6 separate regions of the Homo sapiens genome follow, and regions 2, 3, 4, 5 and 6 are each linked to region 1. The links are contacts of gene promoters, found by promoter capture Hi-C in blood cells and fetal thymus (Javierre and others, 2016). All regions are on one chromosome and are shown on one strand. The core of a region is centred on a gene start or on the middle of the fragment in contact, and the rest is flanking DNA. Distances in the headings are between cores, read along the strand shown. Region 1 holds the start of ITGA4 (integrin subunit alpha 4). Region 2 has its middle 45 kb from the start of PPP1R1C. Region 3 overlaps UBE2E3 (ubiquitin conjugating enzyme E2 E3). Region 4 holds the start of LINC01934 (long intergenic non-protein coding RNA 1934). Region 5 overlaps LINC01934 (long intergenic non-protein coding RNA 1934). Region 6 overlaps LINC01934 (long intergenic non-protein coding RNA 1934).

The links. Contacts are between HindIII fragments. The CHiCAGO score rates a contact against its expected background, and 5 or more counts as called.
Region 2: a fragment that was not itself captured here is called in contact with the fragment with the promoter of ITGA4 in region 1 in 1 of 17 cell types (fetal thymus); the score reaches 5.4 in fetal thymus.
Region 3: a contact is called between a fragment that was not itself captured here and the fragment with the promoter of ITGA4 in region 1, in 2 of 17 cell types (total CD4 T cells and naive CD8 T cells). The highest score is 5.5, in total CD4 T cells.
Region 4: a contact is called between a fragment that was not itself captured here and the fragment with the promoter of ITGA4 in region 1, in 14 of 17 cell types (total CD8 T cells, naive CD8 T cells, total CD4 T cells and 11 more). The highest score is 30.0, in total CD8 T cells.
Region 5: a fragment that was not itself captured here is called in contact with the fragment with the promoter of ITGA4 in region 1 in 16 of 17 cell types (total CD8 T cells, naive CD8 T cells, non-activated CD4 T cells and 13 more); the score reaches 35.8 in total CD8 T cells.
Region 6: a contact is called between a fragment that was not itself captured here and the fragment with the promoter of ITGA4 in region 1, in 16 of 17 cell types (naive CD8 T cells, total CD8 T cells, total CD4 T cells and 13 more). The highest score is 25.0, in naive CD8 T cells.

Annotation. Positions count from the first base shown.
Region 1 is chr2:181,455,455-181,459,863 of GRCh38, forward strand. ITGA4 (integrin subunit alpha 4) reads left to right here and starts at 1,932. Exons shown (of 28, transcript NM_000885.6): 1 at 1,932-2,397; 2 at 2,742-2,863. The coding sequence starts at 2,201. RefSeq lists enhancers at 1,439-1,548, 2,269-2,458, 2,519-2,568, 2,929-2,978 and a silencer at 1,729-2,118. The HindIII fragment of the contact is 9,740 bases long and covers 1-4,409 here.
Region 2 is chr2:181,938,754-181,943,162 of GRCh38, forward strand. No RefSeq gene overlaps it. Among named protein-coding and RNA genes, the nearest start is that of PPP1R1C, 45 kb to the right of the region's middle. The HindIII fragment of the contact is 1,034 bases long and covers 1,754-2,787 here.
Region 3 is chr2:181,031,020-181,035,428 of GRCh38, forward strand. All of the region lies in intron 3 of UBE2E3 (ubiquitin conjugating enzyme E2 E3), which reads left to right. Among named protein-coding and RNA genes, the nearest start is that of UBE2E3-DT, 52 kb to the left of the region's middle. The HindIII fragment of the contact is 4,155 bases long and covers 412-4,409 here.
Region 4 is chr2:181,121,982-181,126,390 of GRCh38, forward strand. LINC01934 (long intergenic non-protein coding RNA 1934) reads left to right here and starts at 1,856. Exons shown (of 5, transcript NR_130784.1): 1 at 1,856-1,999. RefSeq lists an enhancer at 2,123-2,222. The HindIII fragment of the contact is 8,385 bases long and covers 1-4,409 here.
Region 5 is chr2:181,144,575-181,148,983 of GRCh38, forward strand. All of the region lies in intron 1 of LINC01934 (long intergenic non-protein coding RNA 1934), which reads left to right. Among named protein-coding and RNA genes, the nearest start is that of LINC01934, 23 kb to the left of the region's middle. The HindIII fragment of the contact is 661 bases long and covers 1,506-2,166 here.
Region 6 is chr2:181,189,054-181,193,462 of GRCh38, forward strand. The region is part of intron 1 of LINC01934 (long intergenic non-protein coding RNA 1934); the gene reads left to right. Among named protein-coding and RNA genes, the nearest start is that of LINC01934, 67 kb to the left of the region's middle. The HindIII fragment of the contact is 598 bases long and covers 2,144-2,741 here.

The DNA.
Region 1 (4,409 bases), core at 682-3,181:
GTTAGCTTTCTGGAAGCCATTTCATTTTTACAATAGATTTATCACACACTGTATTGACTTTTTCCAGTATAGAGTAAGAGAAAGTTAATATTCCTCATGTTTTGTCTGTTGACAGACTGAAAATAATTGCATTGAGTTTGGCTAGAATATCCTGTCATTCCATAAACATCTCAAACTCCACATGGCTAAAACTTAACCCATCCATGCCCCCATCTGCATGCACACATACATGCATATAACTTCATTTCTCAGTGTTTTTTTCTCCATGAATGGTAGCACCATTCTCTTTCAAGAAAGAGAAATACTTCCCCTTGGGATTATCCTATCTCTACTTATTGCTGCAGGGGCTTCCAAAATTAGGTTTTCTGTGTTCAGTCTTGCATTCACACTTCTGAAACCCAGAGCTGACCGAGACAAATTCTTCAACTTCCTGTCAGTCCCAACATAGATTTAAAATTCCTAACCTGGCTCATGAGGTTCACCATGTATTCCTGCTTCCCTAAGTCAGCCTCATATCACACCAACCTGTGTGTGGAGTGGCTAAATACTCTAGCCAGGCAAGCTCTCTCAGTTCTTCTACCTGGCTCCTCTGGAGCCCTCCTTATTGCTCATCCCATTCTTAGCCTGATTCAAGATTCCTGGTCCTTCAAATCTCTCTTTAAGTGTCCTTACCTGGATCTTTCTCTAGTTAGTACAAATTTTTCTATCTACCATTGGAGCGAACATTTTTTGAAACTTTGTATCAGTCCTGCCTTACTCTTGGTGGAATCCTGTGGTCCTAGTCAAGTGCCTGCTCCATGAATGTGCTGAATAAATGAATAAGCATTTTAATTGTGTATCTGTCATTAGTGTCAGATGTGTTATTTATTCCAGCATGGTTTTAGCACACAGACACACTCTTTGATGCAGACTTTTCTTTTCTTTTTACATATAGCAACAATAAAAAACTAGACTTTCATCTCCTGAAAATATCAGTCTAATAATCACCTATGGCTGTCTCTCTGGTTGCTGAAGGAAAAAAAAAAAAAAGGCAGGGCACACCTGGATTGCATTAGAATGAGACTCACTACCCAGTTCAGGTGTGTTGCGTTGTGGGTCTCCGGCACATTTCAGAGGCTCATTAGGACCCTGACCCCACACTGGGGTTTACACCCCTAAAAGCAGGTGTGTCCCGTGGCAACTGAGTGGGTGCGTGAAAAGGGGGGATCATCAATTACCAGCTGGAGCAATCCGAATCGGTTAAAGTGAATCAAGTCACAGTGCTTCCTTAACCCAACCTCTCTGTTGGGGTCAGCCACAGCCTAAACCGCCTGCCGTTCAGCCTGAGAGGCTGCTGCTAGCCTGCTCACGCATGCAGCCCGGGCTGCAGAGGAAGTGTGGGGAGGAAGGAAGTGGGTATAGAAGGGTGCTGAGATGTGGGTCTTGAAGAGAATAGCCATAACGTCTTTGTCACTAAAATGTTCCCCAGGGGCCTTCGGCGAGTCTTTTTGTTTGGTTTTTTGTTTTTAATCTGTGGCTCTTGATAATTTATCTAGTGGTTGCCTACACCTGAAAAACAAGACACAGTGTTTAACTATCAACGAAAGAACTGGACGGCTCCCCGCCGCAGTCCCACTCCCCGAGTTTGTGGCTGGCATTTGGGCCACGCCGGGCTGGGCGGTCACAGCGAGGGGCGCGCAGTTTGGGGTCACACAGCTCCGCTTCTAGGCCCCAACCACCGTTAAAAGGGGAAGCCCGTGCCCCATCAGGTCCGCTCTTGCTGAGCCCAGAGCCATCCCGCGCTCTGCGGGCTGGGAGGCCCGGGCCAGGACGCGAGTCCTGCGCAGCCGAGGTTCCCCAGCGCCCCCTGCAGCCGCGCGTAGGCAGAGACGGAGCCCGGCCCTGCGCCTCCGCACCACGCCCGGGACCCCACCCAGCGGCCCGTACCCGGAGAAGCAGCGCGAGCACCCGAAGCTCCCGGCTGGCGGCAGAAACCGGGAGTGGGGCCGGGCGAGTGCGCGGCATCCCAGGCCGGCCCGAACGCTCCGCCCGCGGTGGGCCGACTTCCCCTCCTCTTCCCTCTCTCCTTCCTTTAGCCCGCTGGCGCCGGACACGCTGCGCCTCATCTCTTGGGGCGTTCTTCCCCGTTGGCCAACCGTCGCATCCCGTGCAACTTTGGGGTAGTGGCCGTTTAGTGTTGAATGTTCCCCACCGAGAGCGCATGGCTTGGGAAGCGAGGCGCGAACCCGGCCCCCGAAGGGCCGCCGTCCGGGAGACGGTGATGCTGTTGCTGTGCCTGGGGGTCCCGACCGGCCGCCCCTACAACGTGGACACTGAGAGCGCGCTGCTTTACCAGGGCCCCCACAACACGCTGTTCGGCTACTCGGTCGTGCTGCACAGCCACGGGGCGAACCGATGGTGAGTAGAGTTGGACTGATGCGCCCTCAGCAGCTCAGAGCGGCGTGAGAATGGCGCCCTAGGGATTCCCTGCCCGATTCAAACTTTCCTCCCTCCCAAGGAGGCAGGAGGGAAACGCTGCGAGAGCCAGCTCGCTGGAAATCTGCCAGGGAAACTAACTTATCTTGGGGCGGCAGCGCCCCGGGTGCGTTATGGTGCAAGGTCTTGGAGCTTCGAGTCGGGGGTGGTGGGCGGAGGAGGAGGTGGGGAAGCTGCCCTGCTGCGGACTGCACATCTGTGGCGACAGGGAGCTCAGTGGGCAGCACAGCTCACGTCTGAGCGCACGTGCACGTGTCTCGCTTTAGGCTCCTAGTGGGTGCGCCCACTGCCAACTGGCTCGCCAACGCTTCAGTGATCAATCCCGGGGCGATTTACAGATGCAGGATCGGAAAGAATCCCGGCCAGACGTGCGAACAGCTCCAGCTGGGTGAGTTGGGTATGGGACCAGGAGTTAGTGACCTCCCGACCCCCCATGTGGACCCCACCATAGGGCAAGTCCTGGAAAGATTCACGTTGCCTGTTACTTCTGGTTTAAAGAGCATAAAGTTTTCAGTTTCAACTCCATCTCATCTTGCCTCCTTAATATAAAAGGGATTCCCTTTCTGTTAATATCGTTCTCCCTTTTCCTTATGGCAATGATTGCAGTACTCTGACAACTATGCTAGAGAAATTTCTTATGATACCTTCTCTTCATCTCTCCCCGTCTCTCCGTGTGTAAAGCACATTTTAGACTCTCTCAGCGTATTAAGGACAGGATCCAGCTAAGCCAAGACTTGAGAATTTTATTTCCATCTTTGACCTATCAACCCTCTTAAAGAACAGGCTAAGGAGCATATCAGGAATAGCAATTGGAATTGATCCCATATCCCGTCGTTTAACCTAAAGGCCTAAAAAAAAAAGTGATAGTTTTACTTACAATATACAATCTAAAAGAAAAGGAAAATTGGCATCTTCATCGTTAATGTAGTATAATTTTCCATTCCCAAAACCGTCATCCAAAACTCATGTTATATGGGTCCATCTTTTTGCAGTCATTTCTCAATGTCTCAGATTTGTGACAAGTTGAAAAATGTGTACTGATAGAGGGGAGAAGTTTCATGTTTCAAAGCCAAAGACAAGTTTGTTGCACACAGGCAAGTGGGGAAAGAGGAAGGAATATTAAATAACAAGACCTATCTTGTTCCAAAGTGTTACTGCTATATATATTGCTTAACTTTTTTCCCCTTAAAGCAACCCTGGGTCATGGTTGACATTGTTCCTAGTTTATGTATGAGGACTGTGGCTCAGAGTTGCAAATACCTTTTTAAAAGTTACTTAGCTAGTGACTGATAGGTGGGAACTAAAGTCAAACTAGGGTCTGAATGCGTCCAAAGTCTAAGCCATTTTCTTCCATGTATGTATCTTCAATGCAAATAAAATTAAGTGAATGGTTTAATATGTTGTCTGCTGAGCTGATGGGTCATCTGTAAACGGTGAATAAAATTGGTACTTCTTTATATTTCTTTGCTATAAATGGACTTTTGAGATTAGTTATTGGATCTTTAACTTCTTTTGTATTTTATAGTAGTCTTTGCTCTTTTTCAAACTGTGAAGCTGGTTCCCTTCATTCAGATGAATTCAGATAGAGTATAAACATAATGGAATTTTTACTTTTAACTCAGAGCACCTATAAAAGTCTACGAGTTGTCTGTAGCATGTAGAATAAGCCCTAGCCTCTTGTTAAGCATCCTCAATACCAGAAATCACAGTAGGAATGCATAAAACATTCACAGACCCATACATTTTGGAATGATTTTGCAAAGCATAATTTTCATTGCATGAGAGAGTTGTGGGTGAAGAATTAGGGAGTGGAGCCGACAACTTTGGTCTGCCAGAGGATCTTGGCAAGGTCTCAGGAGGGAGCAATTTTATTTCTGTTGTCCTGTCATAGTTTCCTGATCCATGACATTATAACTACTGATATTTAGTGCCTA
Region 2 (4,409 bases), core at 1,021-3,520, 480 kb after region 1:
GTTGAGATAGGGTCTCATTATGTTGCCCAGGTTGATCTCAAGCTCCTGGGCTCAAGCAATCTGCCCATCTCAGACTCCCAAAGTGCTGGGATTACAGGTGTGAGCCACTGCGCCCAGCCAAATGCATCCCTTTCCTTTCTCCAATCCTCATTTCTTGAATCCCTCAATATGCAACTGTGCTTCAGTCATACTCAACCATGCTGCTCCATGCTTCCCTGTATTTGCAAGTTTTGCCCTCTCTGCTTGGAAGTCCTTTCCTTTTTCTCCGATGCCACCCATGCTTCAAACATCTATCTCTCCATGAAGCCCTTTGTGACCCACCAAGCAGAAATCACCGCTTTGTGTTTCCAATGTACCTAGGACATACATTTAAATGTGTGTGTGTACATATGTGTGTGTGCAGATGCATATTAGCTTTATTGAAATATTCACAGATCATAAAATTCACTCATTTAATAATACATACAAATCAACGGTCTTTAGTATGTTTACAGAGTTCTGCAACCATCATCACAATTAATTTTAAAACATTTTCATTACCCCCTAAAACTCCCAGTACCCACTAGCAGTCACTCCTTATTTCTCCTCAACCCACACCCACCATAGCTCTAGGTAGCTACTAATCTGCTTCCTGTCTCTATAGACTTGCCTATTCTGGACATTTCATATAAATGGAATCATACCATGTGTGACTTTTTGTGGCTGGTTTCCTCACTTAGAATAATGTTTGCAAGGTTTATCATGTTGTAGCATACCTCAGTACTTTGTCCTTTTTTATTGCCAAATAATATTCCCTTATATATACATGCCGGCATTATATGAATATGCCCTCATTTTGTTTACCTATTTATCAGCTGATAGACATTTGGGACATTTGGGTTCTTTCCATTCTTTGTTTATTATAAATAATGCTGCTATGAACATTTATGTGCAAGTTTTTCTAAAGACACGTGTTTTCATTCCTTTTGCGTAGACAGCTAGGAGTGGATTTGCTGGGTCATATGGTAACTCTATGTTTAACATTTTGAGGATCGTCTTTTTTTTTTTTTTTTTTTTGAGATGGAGTGTCGCTCTGTCACCCAGGCTGGAGTGCAGTGGTGCAATATTGGCTCACTACAACCTCCACCTCCTGGGTTCAAGTGATTCTTCTGCCTCAGCCTCCCAAGTAGCTAGGACTACAGGCACACACCACCACGCCCAGCTAATTTTTGTATTTTTAGTACAGACAGGGTTTCATCATGTTGGCCAGGATGGTCTTGATCTCCTGACCTCGTGATCCACTCACCTTGGCCTCCCAAAGTGCTGGGATTACAGGTATGAGCCATTGCACCTGGCCAAGGATTGTCTTCTAAAGTGACTGAACAACTCTACATCCATCAGTAATGTATGGGGGTTGCAATTTTTCCACATCCTTGCTAAACTTGTAGTGGTCAGTCTTTTTTTATTCTAACCATTCTAGCAGGTGTGAGGTGGTAGCTCATCGTGGTTTTCATGTGCATTTCCCTGAATGATGTTGAGCATCTTTTTGTGCACTTATTGGGCATTTATATATCTTCTTTGGAGAAATGTCTGCTTACATCATTTAACCATTGTTTTTAAAGTGAGTTATTTGTCTTCCTATTATTGAGTATGTGAAGTCTTTACGTTTTCTAGGTGCAAGTTCCTTAGATGCAAGTTCCTTAGATACAGGATTTGCAACATTTTTCTCCTATTTTATGGGTTGTCTTTTCATCTTCTTGATAGTGTGCTTTGAAGCTTGAAAGATTTTAGTTTGGATAAAATTTAATTGATCTATTTCTGTCTTTTGTTGCATCTGCATTTTGGTGTCATATCTAAGAAACCATTGCTTAGCCCAGGTCATAAAGATTTACTCTTATTTATTGCCTAAGAATTTTATAATTTTAGCTCTTAAATTTATGTATTTTATTCCTGTTGAGTTAATTTTTGTACATGGTGTAAGTTAATGGTCCGATTCTATTTATTTTCATGTGTGTGTAGTACATATCTTTTAATTTTTTTCATTTATTATACTATATTGCAATTAACCATTTAGTCTTCCCAATTATAATAAGACAGAAACATGCCTTACCTACTATCATATACCTAGCACAGTGTTTGGTATGTAGTAAGTGTTCTATAAATATTTGTTAAATGGAGTTGAACTAAATGGAAAATATTGACTTTTCCTCCATTATTAAAAACAACAGATAATTTTTATTGAGATATGTAATTATTTAAATTTTAGTATGATAATGTTTTACAAGAATATGTCCACTTTATGAACATAAGGATTTCCAAACTCGGTCAGATCTATAATCCATCTAGATATATTTTGTTTACTGTCAGGGAAGAAGAAGAGCTATATTATGGAGTGTTTAATTCTTCTCCATAATTTTGACATCATTGATAAAAAATATATCCTCTGAATTATTAATGTCTCTATGCAATTCTTTGTTTACTTAATGTGGCAGATTATATTTTTTAAAGATAGGTCCAAAAGAATCTCCTATCCCAACTACTCTTCTAAAACTTTGCAATTTCCTCATTAAGAACTGTAGTCTGTATGTCTTCCTCCTCTTGCAACTGGTTGGTCTCTGTGACTGCTTTTGAACAATATGAAAAATAGAATGTGGTGAAGGTAATAACCTGTGACTTTCAAGGTTAGAACATGAAAAATGCCATGCACTTTTATCTGATTCTCTTTGAATTCTTGGTCTTGGAACCCAAACATCATACTGTCAGGAAGACCAAGAAGCCTGGGAAGAGGCCTACATGGAGGAAGACAGAAGCTTCTGGCCTTTGGCCCTGGAGGAACTCCCAGCCAACAGACAGCACCAAATCGCCAATCATATGAGAAAGTTATCATGAACGTGGATTCTCCACCGCTAGTCAAGCCACCCCAGGTGATATCACAATGAATTGAAACAAGTTGTCCCTGTTAAGCCCTGCCTGAATTGTGAATTCATGAACGAAATGAATGATTGCTGTTGCTTCAAGACACTAAGCTTTCAGGATACTTTATGTGCGCATAGATATCTGTGACAAATTTTGGTATCTAGAAGTAGGATGCTGCCATAACAAAACCCTATATTTGGGCATTGGCTTTGGGCCTGGACTGTGGGAAGCAGCTGGAAGGGCTTTGAAGAGATGCTTAGTGAAAACCAAAGGCTCTCAAGTAGACTGCTAGTGGAAACCTGAAAGACCTTGAGGAGGCTCTCAGTGAAGGTTTAAAGGAAAGTGAGGACAATGGTATTGGAAGCTAAAGGAATGGGAAGCCTTGTTGGATGACGGCACAGAGTTTGCCAACATAATCATCTGTGTTAATGTGGCAAAGTGGAAATATACCTGCTAAACTCAATGATCTAGTTAAGATTTCCAGGCAGAATATTCAAAATGCCACCTGATTTTTTTTTCATCACCTATGATAAAATGTGAGACAAGAGAGATGAGCTAAAAATAACCTTTAAATATAAAAGAGTCAGAACTTGCCAGGTTTGAAATAAAATTGTGTCTTATGCCCTGATCCTCTAAAAACAATTACTAAATTAAAAATGGCTCTGGAAAAGATAAAATCAAGGGTGGATCCATAAGATTCTTTGTTAGTACTTAAGAAAGATTTAAGAGAGTGGCTCACAAAACATTTCAAACAGAAAAAGGTATTTTTATGGATCTTAAGGCCTGCCTGGCCATCTCTTCTCTGTTAAATAATTGGGTGCTCAAGTGCCCAAGACTCCTAAGGATATATTCCCATAGGAGTCTCAAGAAAACCCCAAATAGATAAGGGCTTATCTTGAAGAGCTTTGCAAATTTGGTTTTTGTCTAACGGAGTTGGTTATCAATTGATACACAGAAATCTACAAGGATTTTTAAAGAATGTATTAACTTGAGCTGAAGGTAGAGGAAACAATATAAAACAAAGAAGGCTTTGGATCTTCAAATGTTTAGAGTTTGGAAGCAGGCCTTCTCACACTACTGTTTTGTAGCATCAGATTATGCATTGCCTTGCTTGGGTAAATCATTCTCCTGTATGTGTCTTAAATCTTCATGTTTCTGTCTTCAAAGGGCATTTCATATTTCTAATATGACTGGGATTTGAGGAACAAGATGTTGTTTCCAATCCATCACTTTAGGAGGTTTTAAGGGCTTCAAATAAACTATCACTCTGACTCAGAAAAACACTAGACATTTTTTTCTTTCAGAATGAGGTCTCTTCCAACCCACTACCTATTATCAACATCCCTTTTACAGTTTATGATCCCCTTGTATCTATTTTCTGGCTTTATTTTCTATTTCTTAAAATGCATCAGCCAGGACTACATCTAATGCCTCAGAACAGATGTATGTTGCTTTTGCCAGATAAGAACAATGTTATATGTTTGTTTACCACAGTAGTACTCTTTTTGATGATC
Region 3 (4,409 bases), core at 1,239-3,738, 420 kb before region 1:
TGTAATTTTTTAGATTGGGTTCTTAATTTTTAGCTTTTCTTCTGTAATACAAACATTAAAGCTGTACATTTACCTCTAAGTACTGATTTTTGTGGCCTCTCATACTATTTTTTTAAAAAATTTGTTAAAAATTGCTTTTGGACCTAATGTATTGTTAGATTTTATACATATGTCCAGTGTGCTTGAGAAAAATATCTCTTCTCTGATTGTTACATATAGGGTTTGCTATGTTTTCATTAAATCATGTTCATTTATTATGTGGTTCAGATATTCTGTATCTTCATTTTTTCCCTCTGGTTGTCAAAAACAAGATACGTAGAAATGTGTTTGCTGTATTACTTTTTATTTATATATTGCTGTATAATCTTTGCTGTATTACTATACCTTGAGGCTATTTTATTATGTAGAGCAAGCTTACAATGTTTCAGTAGCATATATTTTTACCGTTTTTGTTTTTTTGTCATTTTAAAGTACCACATTACTCTGTGTGTTTTTATTTATTTAGTCTGACAGTCTTTTAAGAGTTTGGTTTGTTTGTATTCATTATGATAGGGGTTTGTTACTACCATTTACTTAACGACTACTTTCTGTTTTTCTCTTTCTGCGCCCCTCCTCCTTGCCTTGCCTTTTTGATTGATTGAGGACTGTTTGCTTATTAGTTTTGGTGTTTTGTTTTGTTTTGCTCATAATTCCATTCCTTCTTTACACCCATTTTTGGAGGCTATACACTATTTCTGTATCCTTAGTGGTTCTGAAACTTTACTGTGCTTACTTAAAAAGAAGTCGTAAGTTAATAATCTTAACTCATTCTAGTATAAGACAATGATTGTGAAACAGTTTAATTTTAATCAGCTCCTTTCCTGATTAAATGTTTCCAGACTAGTGACTTTTAAAATGCCAGTTGCTTCTGTTTAACTCAAAAGTTTGTCCGGCTCACAAATGCCATTTTGGAAATGCCATGTAGCCTGTTCTTACAATCTAAGAGTATTCTGCAATGGAAAACCAGCTTCAGGGAGGTGCTCCATTAGGAAAATCTAGAAACCAAAAACTGTGGATAATCACTTTGCTGAGGTTTTCATTCCCTGAAGAAGCAAAAGTTGCTAGTCTCCCTTTGAACAAATTTTATGCCTAGCTTTTCTTGGGTTTAGAGGGCAAAATTAACTTTTTTTGTTGAAGTAGTGTGTTATGAAGGCTAAAGCGAACATCATTATTTCAAAGGAAAAGTAAAATAGAATATGGTCTTACTCACCTGGTAGCAATTGCATAAAATAACGTGTATCCAACATTAATTTTTAATCGGTAATATTTTTTTCCTCTGGAGAGCCAGCTTCTGCTATCTGATAAAAAATATATATTATCCTTTTATATACATGGGTTACAAAAAAGTCATTTGACTAACTTATTCAAATGGCCCCTATTTAACGAACCTCTGTAGTAGATAGCGTGGATAAGATAATGAAGTTTCAAAGAAACATTTGAGTCATTTAGTATTTTTCAATATCTTTATATCTTAGGACTTTCTCATTTGTCAGTGTCTCATTTGACCCATTTCTTTATTCTTATTCTTTATTCTTAACTCCAGATTTTTTAACTTGATATTTATTTTCTTCTAAGAAAAATTTACCATCTCTTTGAAACACTGTAATTTGGACATGCAAAGAAAACAAAGTTGCAAAAATGTAATTATTAAATATGCCTCCTTATTCCCAACTGATTCAGAACCACTGCAATTTTTGGGCAAGCGCTTTAATTTAGGATTATCAAACACTGTCTCAGCCCAAAATCTCCTTAAGCTGATAAGCAACTTCAGCAAAGTCTCAGGATACAAAATCAATGTGCAAAAATCACAAGCATTCTTAAACACCAATAACAGACGCAGAGCCAAATCATGAGTGAACTCCCATTCACAATTGCTTCAAAGAGAATAAAATACCTAGGAATCCAACTTACAAGGGATATGAAGGACCTCTTCAAGGAGAACTACAAACCACTGCTCAACGAAATAAAAGAGGACACAAACAAATGGAAGAACATTCCATGCTCATGGATAGGAAGAATCAATATTGTAAAAACGGCCATACTGCCCAAGGTAATTTATAGATTCAATGCCATCCCCATCAAGGTACCAACGACTTTCTTCACAGAATTGGAAACAACTACTTTAAAGTTCATATGGCACCAAAAAAGAGCCCGCATTGCCAAGACAATCCTAAGCCAAAAGAGCAAAGCTGGAGGCATCACGCTACCTGACTTCAAACTATACTACAAGGCTACAGTAACCAAAACAGCAGGGTACTGGTACCAAAACGGAGATATAGACCAATGGAACAGAACAGAGCCTTCAGAAATAATACCACACATCTACAACTATCTGATCTTTGACAAACCTGACAAAAACAAGAAATGGGGAAAGGATTTCCTATTTAATAAATGGTGCTGGGAAAAGTGGCTAGCCATATGTAGAAAGCTGAAACTGGATCCCTTCCTTACACCTTATACAAAAATTAATTCAAGATGGATTAAAGACTTAAATATTAGACCTAAAACCATAAAAACCCTAGAAGAAAACCTAGGCAATACCATTTAGGACATAGGCATGGGCAAAGACTTCATGTCTAAAACACCAAAAGCAATGGCAACAAAAGCCAAAATAGACAAATGGGATCTCATTAAACTAAAGAGCTTCTGCACAGCAAAAGAAACTACCATCAGAGTGAACAGGCAACCTACAGAATGGGAGAAAATTTTTGCAAGCTACCCATCTGACAAAGGGCTAATACCCAGAATCTACAAAGAACTCAAACAAATTTAGAAGAAAAAAACAACCCCATCAACAAGTGGGCGAAGGATATGAACAGACACTTCTCAAAAGAAGACATTTATGCAGCCAAAAGACACATGAAAAAATGCTCATCATCACTGGCCATCAGAGAAATGCAAATCAAAACCACAATGAGATACCATCTCACACCAGTTAGAATGGCAATCATTAAAAAGTCAGGAAACAACAGGTGCTGGAGAGGACGTGGAGAAATAGGAACACTTTTACACTGTTGGTGGGACTGTAAACTAGTTCAACCATTGTGGAAGACAGTGTGGCAATTTCTCAAGGATCTTGAACTAGAAATACCATTTGACCCACCAATCCCATTACTGGGTATATACCCAAAGGATTATAAATCATGCTGCTATAAAGACACATACACATGTATGTTTATTGTGGCAGTATTCACAGTAGCAAAGACTTGGAACCAACCCAAATGTCCATCAATGATAGACTGGATTAAGAAAATGTGGCACATATACACCATGGAATACTGTGCAGCCATAAGAAAGGATGAGTTCATGTCCTTTGTAGGGACATGGATGAAGCTGGAAACCATCATTCTCAGCAAACTGTTGCAAGAACAGAAAACCAAACACCACAGGTTCTCACTCATAGGTGGGAATTGAACAATGAGAACACTTGGACACAGGAAGGGGAACATCACACACCGGGACCTACCGTGGGGTGGGGGGAGCGGGGAGAGATAGCATTAGGAGATACACCTAATGTAAATGACAAGTTAATGGGTGCAGCACACCAACATGGCACATGTATACATATGTAACGAACCTGCACGTTGTGCACATGTACCCTAGAACTTAAAGTATAATAAAAAAAATTAAAAAGAAATTTCCTGGAACTAGCATGTCAGAATACCATTTTATGTCCAGCTTAAAGTTTAGTGTGAACCTTGAATTTTATTTCATTTCTATTTATATTCAGGTTTCTAAAGAACAAGTTTCCATGAACAAATGTGGCTTTCAACAGGTGAAATGATTTGAGTAATAGAAAAAAATTAGAATTTGAAAAATTTGAAGAATTTAAAAAGTTAACATATTTGAAGAATATGAAATACTAACATTAGGGAAGATTAGTTTGATACTTTTAATTTAGGAACTATTAGAGAAAGGGGAAAGACAACTAATATTTTAGGTGATTCTATTTAGATAAATGGCAAAATCCGCCTTGGAAAAGCTACATAATAAATATACAAGTCATTTGTAAACTATTCGGATCACTTAGGTGCTTTATGGTTAGTATTCATATTTTAAAATTAATGTACATTACAGCAAAATAACTGTTTTGTTTTAATATTTATATGCATTCTATATAAGGGATAACCTTTTGAATTGTAAAAAGTGAAACCTACAAAGTAAAACCTACACCTATTATACTATGATTTGCATGATGTAAGGCTATAAATGTATATTCCTTTTTCTGAACTATTCTTTCAAGGGTTGCAGTAGTACTGTCAGCTGCTGATTTTTCTTTTTGAACTTAAACACAGCTTTTGTCATTGTCATGGAAATGTTACCATGTTCTTTATTTTAAAATGTATTTATAAAAAATATGAATTACTTTT
Region 4 (4,409 bases), core at 937-3,436, 330 kb before region 1:
GCTATATCCTTCGAACCTGCCCAGACATACCTAGAGAAAACATTTTCAGGTATCTCTAGGTAGGTGTGAGCTAGGAGGAAGGTTAGTTAGGAGCAGAGACCAAAAAGAGATATAATGAATGCAACTCTATGAATCACAAGGGAAAAAGTCTCTAATTGCAGAAGGAGCAGTAACAGTTTTAAGCTGGAGAGCCTGGGTTGGTGCCCAAAGCATTTCTTTGTTTGCCAAAAGCTGCCTCAATGTGGTATTTCCATCAACACCTATTTGTTGAGAGCCTACTCTGTGCCAGACACTATTATACAGGCTGTAATTTTCTATTGGCTCTAAGCCATTCTGATACATAAAAATATAGTTTCCTCAAAAGAGATTAGTATTTTATAATCTAGTTCAGCTTCATGTGTTAGCACTTAGTCTGAATATTTGCCATTGTGAAAATATGCAATATCTATGTATTTTTCAGACATGAGCCAAAGTATTGAAGTGCTTCATACTTAATTGTTCTTCAAAGTGTTCAATCTTTAACCAAAATATTTCTCAAGAAGTATTTCATGGATATACTTGTTATTTATTTTTGTTCTCTGAAAGAAATGCCTCCTGATGTTAAAAATCATTTTGCTAATATCTCAGTCTTATTCCTTTTTAGAGTCCTCTACACTCTATCAATATAGAACTAGCTACAGTTACCAGAAAGTGCTATATTGTTTTGTGCCTCTGGATCTTTGAATATGCTAGACTCCCAGCTGGGAATGCACTTCCTTGCATGAAAAATGACCACACAATATTCTTTACCACAGTTCAAGAATCAACTCCTTTGATCAGCTCTTTTACGCTAATTAGAATGCCCGTTTCCCCACTTGAGGCCCAATGTATTCTATATAAATTCCTATTGTTGTAATTCTCACATAATATTCATAATTATTTGTCCAGTTTTCTTTTCCCATCTTGTGATTTCCCATAAAATCATAAGATTTTATGAACTTATTGAGGACAGAGATTATGTCTTATTTGTGGTTATATCCTCAGGGCACAAAAAAGAGAAACTCAATATATGTTCAGTAAATTCATTGAATGAATAAATGAATCAATGAACAAACAAGCAAATGCCATATGCATGCATATATTCAACTCCTAGGAACACATTTTACTGGTATTTTATATCTTATATTTATTTATAATATATAAATATTTTATATATTATATATAAATAAATACAAATATTTATTTATATATAATATATAATATAATATATTTATTTATATATAATATATAATTTATAATTATATAAATATATAATATATTTATATATAATATATAATTTTATTATATATTAATTATATATATAATAAATATATATAATATATAATTTTATTATATATTAATTATATATATAATAAATATATATAATATATAATAATATTATATACATTATATATAAATATAAATATTTATATAATATATAATATAATATATTTATTTATATATAAATATATAATATATAATTATATAAATATATAATATATTTATATATAACATATAATATAATATAATAAATATATAAATAAATATAAGATAATAAATATAAGATAAGACCCTTTTCTGAAGATACTTCTAAGAAGTATCAGCAATACATTCTATGGGATGCGTATAATGGTTCCTGGATAATATAAAGAAAGAAGGCTTTCCTTTCTCAAAAAGGCAGTCTGTTATAAAAGTCTTTGTAAGTTGAAAACATTTTTTTTGAAAAGCAGAACCCTGTAGTTAAAGAAAATTCAGCAGCCTAAATTCTTTACTACATGTGTGGGTATAGTGAAAACATTTAGCTATCTGATATTACACTATCGTTGACTTCTCAGTTTTAGTATTCAGAGAATGACCTGAACTTAGCTGTGTTAAGTTGCCTGCTCCACAGGAAACCACCTCTGTAACTGTTGCTTGCTGCTTTCTCTTTAGGCAACACCCAAAGCCACTGTCAGATGTCATGGAGATGAGACCTCACAAGGTAAGTGCAAAGAAAACAGGAACAAATACATTTTCAAACAGAACTTGGTGAAAACATTGGCCCAAGAATGATAGGAAGCACCGCCTTTTGGGGATCCCTATTTGGGCTGTGGAAGGGACATATAGCCCTGTTTTATATGGAATCATATATGGTGTGAGGGAAATGAGTCAGATCCTGGGTTCCCAAGTGGCCTATCTGAGACAGAAGCAGGTTATGTTGTCTAGACAAAAGGAAATGCTTTGTTTTTTGAGGGAATGTTATCAGAATTTTAAAAGCCAAATGATGGCTAGAGAATATAACTAAAATTTTATTGACACTTTGTTTTTTAGAAGGCTTTTTCCCTCTTTCTTTTTGTTTCATTCTAACAGTCTATCTTTTTGCCCAAGATGCAAATTGAAACTTAATTAAATCCATGATTCCAAAGAGATATAGGCCTTATTACACAGCAGGCATTCTCTGGCTTTTCTTCACATCTGGAGTTTTAAACTTTGGGGTATTAATATCATGTCTAAGATTTCTTGTAGTCTTGGTTTGCTAAATAGAGGATACATGGCTATTTTAAATGAGGGTTTCATAATCACCCAAAAATGCTACAAATTTCAACGTGAAATAGCTTTTTCCTACATTGTAAATATTAGATGATTAAGCATTCCTTATGCCTTTTGCATGAAAAGGCAACATAGACTTTATTAGATATCTGCGGTTCTCATTCTTTGAGTATTTGCCTCCCTATTGACCTTCAGGCCTTTTGTGCTTCTTTAAAGCCGTTTCCATCCCCCCTACTTCCTCCTTCACAGAATGTAAGATGTCAGTGGAAGAAGATGAAACCAGAGGTTTTAAGAAAAGATTGGACAATAATAACTAAAACAAGTTCCTTTAGCTTTTATTTTTACCCATTTTATGTATTTTTATTGATATAAATTGCTTTATTATGATTATAGTTGAAAGTCAACATTTTGGCATATTAAAAAGACCATTTCCTTCCAACCTAGAAAATTCTATCTCATGATGATACATGTTAGGCCTCTTAGCAACTTATTCTGTCCTATAGCTGTGTGTGGCCACTGCCAATTTGTAGTCCCCAGTTCTAGTCCTGTCAACTATTTCTCCAGAGGTAACTGGACCAGAGATTATACCAGAATTTTATTTTATTTTTCTCAGATGGAGATTTTTTTTCACTGTGAAACTGTCTGGTTTCCCACTGATGGGTCTAATATACAGAGCTTTCTGGGTTTGACAGATGTGATAAACTAACAAGAATATTTGCATTTGTGTAGCTTTTATATACAGATATTTCACTCTCCTAATACTTTTTCAAGTTATAGATAAATGTTTTTTAAAAGCAAACTGAAACGGCTGACAAACAGCTGCTGCATAGACTTTGGAACCTGGCTGCCTATGTTTGTAGACTGCTCATAGAAATGTGAGTTCTGATAGCCTTTTTGGAGATGAATCTAGCAATATATGTGGATATTTATTGTGGCATTTGCTGAAGTTCCTTCTATAGCCTACCAGGCACTGCATCACCTGGACCTTGGGCAAGATATATGTCTGGTCCCTTTTCCTGCCCTTCTGTCACTCTGCATTTACTGTAGTGGCATTCACAAGTGTTCCCAGTCTCGCTGAGTATCTCTCCCTCAGAACTCGGGTGCTTGCTGCTTGCTGTTCCTTCTGACTGGATTGCTCCTCTCTTAACAGGCCTCATGGCTTACTCCCTCAAGTCATTCAGGTTTCTGATCAAATACCTCCTCAGAGAGCTCTTCCCTGGCTACCCCATTTAAAGTAATAAGAAATTTCCTGTAACTTTGTATCCCCTTGTTTAGCTTCATAAAAATATAACATTATGTTACATATTAAATTAGTGCCTGTCCCCTCCACTAGAATGGATTCTTTAGGAAAGTGGGAACTTTGTTTTGTTCATTGCTCTATTCCTGGAGTTGAACAGGCGCATAGAGTGTATTAAGACTTGTTGCATGAATAATTTGTGGTAGCAAATGAACGAAAAGATAAAGCAAATAGAATATCCTTTGGTAAGAGAATGGTTAGATAAATTGTGGCATATCAATAATATGATGAAGTCATCAAGAAGAATAGAATTAGATCAATGTCATCCAGGGAGTTTCAAAGTTTATTATTAAGGAAGAAGTGGAGGTGCAGAAAAGTTTGTATAATAGGACCCTGAGCAGTGATCTACATATATATGTATCTATCCATCTATTTAATCTATCTATCATCACATAAGAATGATTCATATAGTAGGATATTCACCAGGTCATAAGCATTAGCTTTGTAGGGAAATTGTGCAGTGTGATTTTGTTGAACAGGGTATGGAAACGGAGACTAGAGGGCTCAAAGTTGGCTGAAATATGTAAAATGATTGCCAATTTGGGATACAGCTTCACTTGCTTTT
Region 5 (4,409 bases), core at 586-3,085, 310 kb before region 1:
CTTTGCAACACAATTGTGAAAAGCCTTTGCTACTTGGGAAAAGAGAAAAAACCCTGACGCTGAACACGTGACAGATAATAGCAGTGAACATGAGCTCAGAGACCTGGGAGGGAGTCCTAGTCCTGCTACTTACTAGTCTTAGGACAGGCTCTTCGCTGCTAAGTGACAGAAAGTATAGCTCGCAATTCCAGCCCTACTGTGTTCGAAATTGGTGGGTTCTTGGTCTCGCTGACTTCAAAAATGAAGCCATAGACCCTTGTGGTGAGTGTTACAGTTCCTAAAGATGGTGTGTCCAGCGTTTGTTCCTTCAGATGTTCAGATGTGTCCGGAGTTTCTTCCTTTTGTTGGGCTCATAGTCTCACTGGCTTCAGGAGTGAAGCTGCAGACCTTTGCGGTGAGTGTTACAGCTCCTAAAGGTGGCGCATCTGGAGTTGTTTGTTCCCTCCGGTGGGGTTTGTTGTCTCACTGGCCTCAGGAGTGAAGCTGCAAACTTTCGCCGTGAGTGTGACAGTGACAGTTCACAAAGCACCCAGAGTTGTTCCTTCTTCCCATTCCCAGTTGTCTGTCCCTCCCTGTGGGTTCGTGGTCTTGCTGGCTTCAGTAGTAAAGCTGCAGACTTTCACAGTGAGTGTTACAGCTCATAAAAGCAGCACAAACCTAAAAAGTGAGCAACAGCAAGAGTTATTATGAAAAGCAAAAGAACAAAGCTTCCACAAAGTGGAAGAAGACCCAAGCAGGTTGCCGGAGAGGGTTTGGGTGGCCTGCTTTTATTCCCTTATCTGGCCCCACCCACATCCTACTGATTGGTCCACTTTACAGAGAGCTGATTGGTCCGTTTTACAGAGTGCTGATTGGTCCGTTTTGACAGAGCGCTGATTGGTGCATTTACAATCCTTTAGCTAGACACAAAAGTTCTCCAAGTCCCCTACCCGATTAGTTAGACACAGAGCGCTGACTGGTGCGTTTACAAACCTTTAGCTAGACGCAGAGTGTTGATTGGTGCATTTACAATCCTTTAGCTAGACAGAAAAGTTCTCCAAGCCCCCACCTGACCCAAAAGCCCAGCCGGCTTCATCTCTCAATGGCACTACCCACGGGACTTTGGGGTACATAGCCAGGGCACTCTGGCAGCCCAGAGGGAGCTCCTCCCACGATCAAGCGCAGCAGGCGCCCGCAGGCCGAGCTGAGTGCAGGGGCTGCGGAGCCCGCGCCCACCCCAAACCCGCACCTGCCTGCGAGCGCCTTGCGCAGCCCCGGCTGCCACGGGCGCCTCTTCCTCCACACCTCCCTACGAGCAGAGGGAGCCGGCTCCGGCCTTGGCCAGCCCCAGAGAGGGGCCCCCACAGCGCAGTGGTGGGCTAAAGGGCTCCTCCAGTGTGGCCAGAGTGGACACCCAGGCCGAGGAGGCATGGAGAGCAAGCGAGGGCTGCTAGCAAGTTGTCATCTCTTACTACCTACCATTGCTGTAGTGCAGCCACAGCATCTTATGTATGGTGGATTTGTGAAGCTTTACACTACTGTTACATGGTTTCTCAATCATATTTATCGTTTATACAAGAGCTCACAAATTAACAATTCTTTTACCTTGTTTCCAAATACCAGCATAGTCACAAAATGAATGACTCAGGAAGTGTAGATCTAGAAGAACCAGATAATTGCACATAAGTTTGGTGAGATCAGCATGGTTGTTATGTTGTGGGTGTACTTTGTTAGCTGTCTTTATTTTTATTCTCAGCCCTTTGTAGTGCTTTAAATGGCAGAGGTTTTGAGAATGGGTGTCCCAATGACGTTACTGAGGGCTGAGGTTAAGCATTACATAGAATGGTGGTACTTAGTTGTTGGCCATGACTGGTTTCCTCACCATCTGTGTGAAAAACTGTCAAAAGTACGTATTATTATGCTGATCACCAGGCATGGATACCCAAGTTTCCTGTGGTGGCCTGACTCTGCCATGTTGCTATAATTATAACATAAAATATGGCATGTTTTCCTATTACTCTTGAGTTAGAAAACATACAAGCCAATGCCACTGAGGAGTGTAGTGGTGGAATACACCAGTAACAAGGGGCATCTAACTTTGGTGCCTTTCACTCTTAAAGCTCACCTTGTATCTTAGCAAAGAATATACTTGACCTAGCTCACAGTCCCTATTCCACACAGGGACCAAGCTTCTTTCTTTCATTTTTATGATTGACATAGTTTTTGAGTAGGTAATATATTCAAATGAGTCAAAACCCAGAAAGTATATAGATATCTGTGAAAAGCCTTCTTTCCTTCCCATCCCGCTGTTTAATTTTCACACATTCTTCCCCATCATGGCCACAAACAGGTAATGTGTGCTGTAGGTTTCTTGTGTATCCTTAAAGAGATAGATTTTTTTTATAGCTGTAACTCGATATAAATATATTTTATTTTTCTTTCTTAAAAAGACTCATAAATGATGTGTATAAATATATTTATATCTCTTACAACTCAGCACAATGCTGGTGTAATGATTTGATATTCAAGCAAATCACAAAGCTCTAGTTAAATTAGTCTTTAATATATAGCTAAGAAAAATCGTTGGCAAATTTGTGTGCATTACAGAGCTCAAATGCCTAAGCATTGCCTGCCTCTGTTCTCAGTAAGCATATGTTTTATTTAAAGAGAAATCATCAGGTTTATCTGGGTTCATCCTAATGTATTCAGCACATTAACACTTGTTTCCAATAGAGTTTAACAGCTTCTTTTTACCAATCCCTTTAGTAAAATCTTTTATAATATAATAGTTTAAACCCAACTTATAAAATATAAAATGTGTAGTTCCAATCAACATTAAAGTGTGTTATATGTATAATTTAATATTTCTTAAATTTTTATTCATTAAAAAATCACATACTGGTCTTGATTTGAAACAGCGTTTCAAATGGTTTTTAGTTATGTAAATTATTTCTCCCCTGACTGTGTAATTACATGATGGACTGGTTTCTAGAGTATCATATACTTAATGTGAGTTTCTAAAAATGCTTTAATCATATAATTGCTAGTTTATCAAGTAGAAATATAGGTTTGAGAACACTATCATTATGTCATTATTTTCCACAAAAGACTGTGAAACACACTGAAGAGGCTATTATGAGGCAAATAACAGTTTTCTGTGGTGTCTAAATTTGCAAGGATTATATTTTTAAAAGAATAGTAAAGAAAATACCTAAAGGTGAAGAGCTTTAAATCTAGCCAGCCAATTTATGTTGTGTCTCTATGAAAAACCAGTCCAGGCAAAGAGAGTGAATAGGTTAAGACCAGAATAATGAAGATAGTAGATTATCTAACTCAATGAGTGATACTAATATTTAATAATTGATTCACTAAATTCTGCAAGAAAGCCTAAAGGAAATGAAATAAAGTGGAGATATTTTATTTTATTTATACTAGAATCCAGTTGCATTGCTCTTATACTAATTATTACTGGCTGTACCATGTTCAAGTGTGATTGAAATAGAAAATCATTTATCTTCAACTGGTCTACCGCCAGTAGGAACAGGGAAATATAATCTAGAAAGGCTAAGTGGTTAAATTGAAGTCTAGTTTTACAGAAATTAAAGATTTAAATAAACGTTTTCTGATTTATTGAGTAGTCATGGGTGAGAAAATGTTTTTATTTTCAACAAAGTCTAGTAAAAGTCTAAGGTTAAAATTGCTCCCTCTGTGGGTTTAGTATGAGAAGAGAAGACTCCTAAAAAGTCCTCTCTCAAGAAAAAGTCTCTCTCAATATATTTCTGTTACACACACACACACACACACACACACACACACACAGTCAGCCTTTCGTGTGCAGGTGTTCCACATCCCTGCGTTCCACCAATGATGAATGGAAAATACTTGGAGAAAAAAAGTATGGCTGCATCTAAGCTGAACATGCACAGACTTTTATTCTTGTTACTCCCCAAACAATACAGTATAACAACTATTTACATAGCATATACTTATATTGGATATTATAAGTAATCTGAAAATGATTTTAAGTAAAGGGAAGGATAGGTGTAGGTTATATGTAAATACTATACCATTTTATATAAGGGACTAGGGCGTCTGTGGATCTGGTATCTGTGGGGGTTTCTGGATACCTCCACAGATAGCAGATCCACAGATAGCCATATTTATTTCTGGATACCTCCACAGATACCAATACCATAGACTGTGTATCTATTACCCCGTCTCCATTTAAAACGATTACAGCTACAGCTCTGAGCAGAAGAAAAACCAAAGGCAGGATGTTAGATTTGTTGATAAATGCCTATGTTAAAGGTGTTTCTATATTGTAGTTTCAAGTTCAGATATTTATTGTTATTTATTCTGTTACTATTTACTCAGCTATTGAATATAGTTCATGATGAATATATCTAGATGATTTATATTTTCATGCAATT
Region 6 (4,409 bases), core at 1,193-3,692, 270 kb before region 1:
GACCTCAAATTTTCCCTGCTCTGAGTCTTCTTGGTGATGCCTGGACTTCAGCCAGAGAAGCCTCAGCACTAACCTGTGTGTGTCTCAAGAGAATTGGTTGTCACAGTGTGCTCCCTTTTAGATGGAAATAAATATTAAGAAATATTACATATCCCAGCCTTCACTCAGTATAAGATGAAAGAAAGAATAATGTGGTTTCTGAAATTTATAGCTCAAAAGTGAGAGAGCTGTGAAGTTGAGACCAATGTGACTTCTGAATCCTTATTTGGCTTCTTTGATGACTTATAAATAATAAAAATTGCTGCTTAAAAATATATATGATGGGGAACAAATCAACACCAGTCTTCTTAAAGCATCCTGAAAAGTATGTTTTGTATAAGTGTCCATTACTTGCTATTATTTTTGTGAAAAGATAGATGAATGTAAGGTTTCTCTTTCTTTGTCTTTCTGGATGGAATTCATTTTAAGTCCAGAAATTTGAAAATAAATATCAAGTGAAAAAGGAGAATTAATAGAGTGTTCTGAGGTTGGGGAGACACTCTCCAACAAACAGCAGCAAAATGTTATTCTCAGACTTGCTCATCCGACTGTCAGCAGCGGCTAACCCTGCTTCTCAATGCACAACTCATTGTCTGCCATGAATGTCACCTGCTATTGCCTGTGAATGAAGAATCACAACTGTACACAGTAAAGAGAAAGAATGGTATTGCATAAAAGTAACACATTTCTCTTAGGATTTGTCCTGATTCAAGTGCCATTCATTTATAGACAAGCACTAAAATTGAAAAAGACAACTTGAAGACATGCATTTCTTCCACTTAATAGATTTCTTAATTGTGCTTTCATTTACATACTTTTATTGATTCTACAATATTAACCTTATTGAGTAAAGTATCTACACATATAAGAAAAATCTGATCATTATTTTATAACGAAATAAAAGAGTGATTCTTTGGCATTCCCCTTTTTGGATTGAAGCAGAAGGCAGTGCATTTGGCTTAACACTTGACTTTTCACTTAGCTATGTCCAGAAAGAGAAATGCTTACACTGAGCCACAGTTATTAATCACAGGGGATCTCAGGCTCTAACACATAACAGGTGCTTGCTAAGTGTTTGTTGAAGGAACAATAGAAGGAGTCATCAGTTATTTTAAGGCTGTGATATGTGATCCTTATTTTATTATAATTTTTTTTTCTGAACATGGCATACTTGAAATTCAATGGGGGAAAATAAACTGACTTCTCCATTGTAAAATGACAGTTTTAGGTTGAGTTTCTCTTAAAGGTATTTTTTACTTAATGATTGTATTTGGTTAATCAGTAATATATTTCTAACCCATTATCAATAACATCAAAGAAATAATTTGGGGAGAAGTACACCTAACCCTACATAATCATTTCAAATGGAGTCTTGGCTATGCATGATGGTATTCCAAAATCCTCATGTTGGCTGAAAATAATTTTATTTGACTATTCACTTGAGGTTTTCAAGAAAATTTGTAGAGACTGTATTTTTTTTGTGTGTAATTCAAATAAGATGTTTAATAAAGGCATATTTTAGAATTTTAACAGCTATATAAGTCAGGTAAAAAGCCACATTTATTAGCCCCAGTAGATAACTGTAAAACTCAGACACAAAATTAATTTCTCAAAACAGACAGAAAGAAGAGATAGAACTCCCTGTAGCTTATGTCAGCTGTCAAAAAACAGTGATGTATTGTCCTTCTCCACTAAGTTGCTTCACCACCAGCAGGTTTTAGTTAACATGATTATGATAGTGAATGACCCTAAAGAGGGCTCCTTCATTCATTTAAGGCTCTTTCCTAATAACCCACAGCTGTGTGAACACCATCAGCTGTGGGAGTTTCCTTTGGGCACGTTGAAAGTGGTGGTATGTCACTCCATATGGTTCTTATGGGCTTCCTTTGACTACTCATATATTCCATCAGTCCAGCTGTCAAGAGCTGATTCCTCAGCTGGGCTGATGACTTGAAAAGCTACTCACCAGTCTTTAATTGTTTCTCAATGTTGCTACTAAAAAGCTAGGAGCTCTTTGTTTGCAGTAGGTAAAAAAATGAAGAGGAGCTCATTTCAAATTAAAGCAGCCAAGGCTCTGAATAGGACAATCCCCCCAAACTCAGTAAGCTTTTGTTTTTACATACTAATGTCCACATGGTTGTGGGGATCCAAAGTAATTTGGAGGAGAATTGTTATCGCTTTGATTGCATGCAAATGTAATCAGGCTTTTGCAAAGGAGGCCTCAAATGGAGCTTTGCACACAAGTTTAAGAAATGATCTTAATTTGTTGGCTTATAGTAGAGGTATTTAACTTTCAAACTTGTTTTCTGAAGAAAAGCAATGAAAATAAAGAGGTAATGGCAGTTTTGCTGTAAAACTTTAATTTGAAAAGAATTGTGGGATCATTACATTGTTTATTTGGAAAAAACAAAGGCATTATTGAAAAAATAACAGAATATCTAAACTATATGGAAAATTAAATAGAAATAAGGGAAAGAGGGTAACTGAATGATTAATCTCGTTAATTCTGTAATGAAATTAAAGTTTTTTTTAGTCTTCTAAATTGATATCACCCCTTAATTTGGAGCCAGTCTTACAGAGCCTTAGCAATTTATTGCTTGAATTGTCAGAGGAAAATAATGTGTTGAGGTTTGTATGTTACCCTTGTGGTTGAAATTTAGACATTTATCTTTTTTTAAAAAAATTGGAAAACGCTTTTAAGAAGCTTGGTAGAAAGGAGACAGTTTCTAGGGAAGATAGCTTAAGATTGATTACTTTTGTGTCTTTAGCCTTCCCTTACCTATAAAAATTTATTTAATTTTTCATGTTTCTGTTTACCTACTTTCACAGAAGGCCAGAAAACAACAGACTAACTCCGGATATGACAAACTCTTTATAAATACTTATAAGTACTGTTGGCTACAATAGTTCTAAAGCCTTAACAAATGATGTTGAAGCAAAATGAATAATGATTATTCCTATTTCATTAGGAATTAGTGTCTGTGAAATCTTCCTAAATCTTCAAAATCAATTAAGGTGTATTTTTACAGAAGCTTGAAGCTAAAGACTCTAAGAAACATTAGTGGAACTTCATTTGCCCAAAATTAATGGTTCCTGATAGTAGTTGGAATTCCAAGAAAAAGGGTTCATTATGTAATTCTCAACTCTTTAATTATACAACCACTTTGTTTTAATACTCTCTTCAAACTTCTGAGAGTTCAGTTATATTGTGATAGCCATTGATTACTTTCTCTTGCTACTTTATCTTTCCTTTTACATTTTATGGGACAGAAATGATATTTAATTTATTAACAAACTTTTATACCTTACAAACAAAATATCAATAATTGGACTTTCAAATCTTTTCTTACATAGTGTAGGAAATGTAATAATTGTTCTTTAAAATGCCCTCTTGAAGCTGGAAGACAGATGGAAAGATGCTTTTTTTTACTTATTAAACTGTTTTTTTTACAGTGAGTTGATTATTTCAAAAAATCATAGAAAATGAAGTGCTAAGAATTGCTGTAATCAAGATAAAGCAATAAAAATTTGAAATGTGATAATCAAGAAAGTATCTAATATTGGCTAACAAGTTTTAAATGTAAAATATAGAGATTTATTACATTTATATGTATCTCACAGTAAATAATCCCTTCTCTTAAATTCTTCAAGCAAAATTTAGTTATTAAACCTCTTTGTGGCTTTATTTCACAAAACATGGGAAAAAAAGAAAGAAGGAAGCATAAGATGAAACTCAGAAAGCTGTCAGGAACAATAATTTTCATACATGATAGTATTAAGTCTGTTTTAACTGAGTTGAAACAAAATTATGACAAAGTCATTGACCACCTCTCCCACCCAGATATTTGCTAAGGTATTCTAATGGAGGACATATAGTCAGGCCACATCTCAAATACTTAGATGTGACTAAATCAGTGAGTTTGGGTATAAACATGAGACCCTCTGGGAAAATCAAGGATGGCTTAGTGAGATGAACAGGAAAACTGTTTCACAATAAAACATGAGTGGGAACGTTGGGATCTTACAGAGCCTGGAAACTCAGTCATTAAAAGAATGGCTGAGAGTATTGGGACCCTTGGATATCCACATGCAAACAAATGCATCAGACACAGACCTTACACTCTTCATACAAGTTAACTCAAAATGAATCATTGACAGAAATGTAAAGCTCATAACTGAAACTTCTAGAAGATAACATAGGAAAAATCTAAATGATTTTTGACTATGGCAATGACTTTTTAGATACAACACCAAAGGCATTATGCTTGAAAGAAATAATTGATAAGCTGGACTTCATTAGAATTAAAAAGTTCCCTAAGATAGTCAATGTCAAGAGAATGAGAAGACAAACCAAACCACAGGGTAGGAGA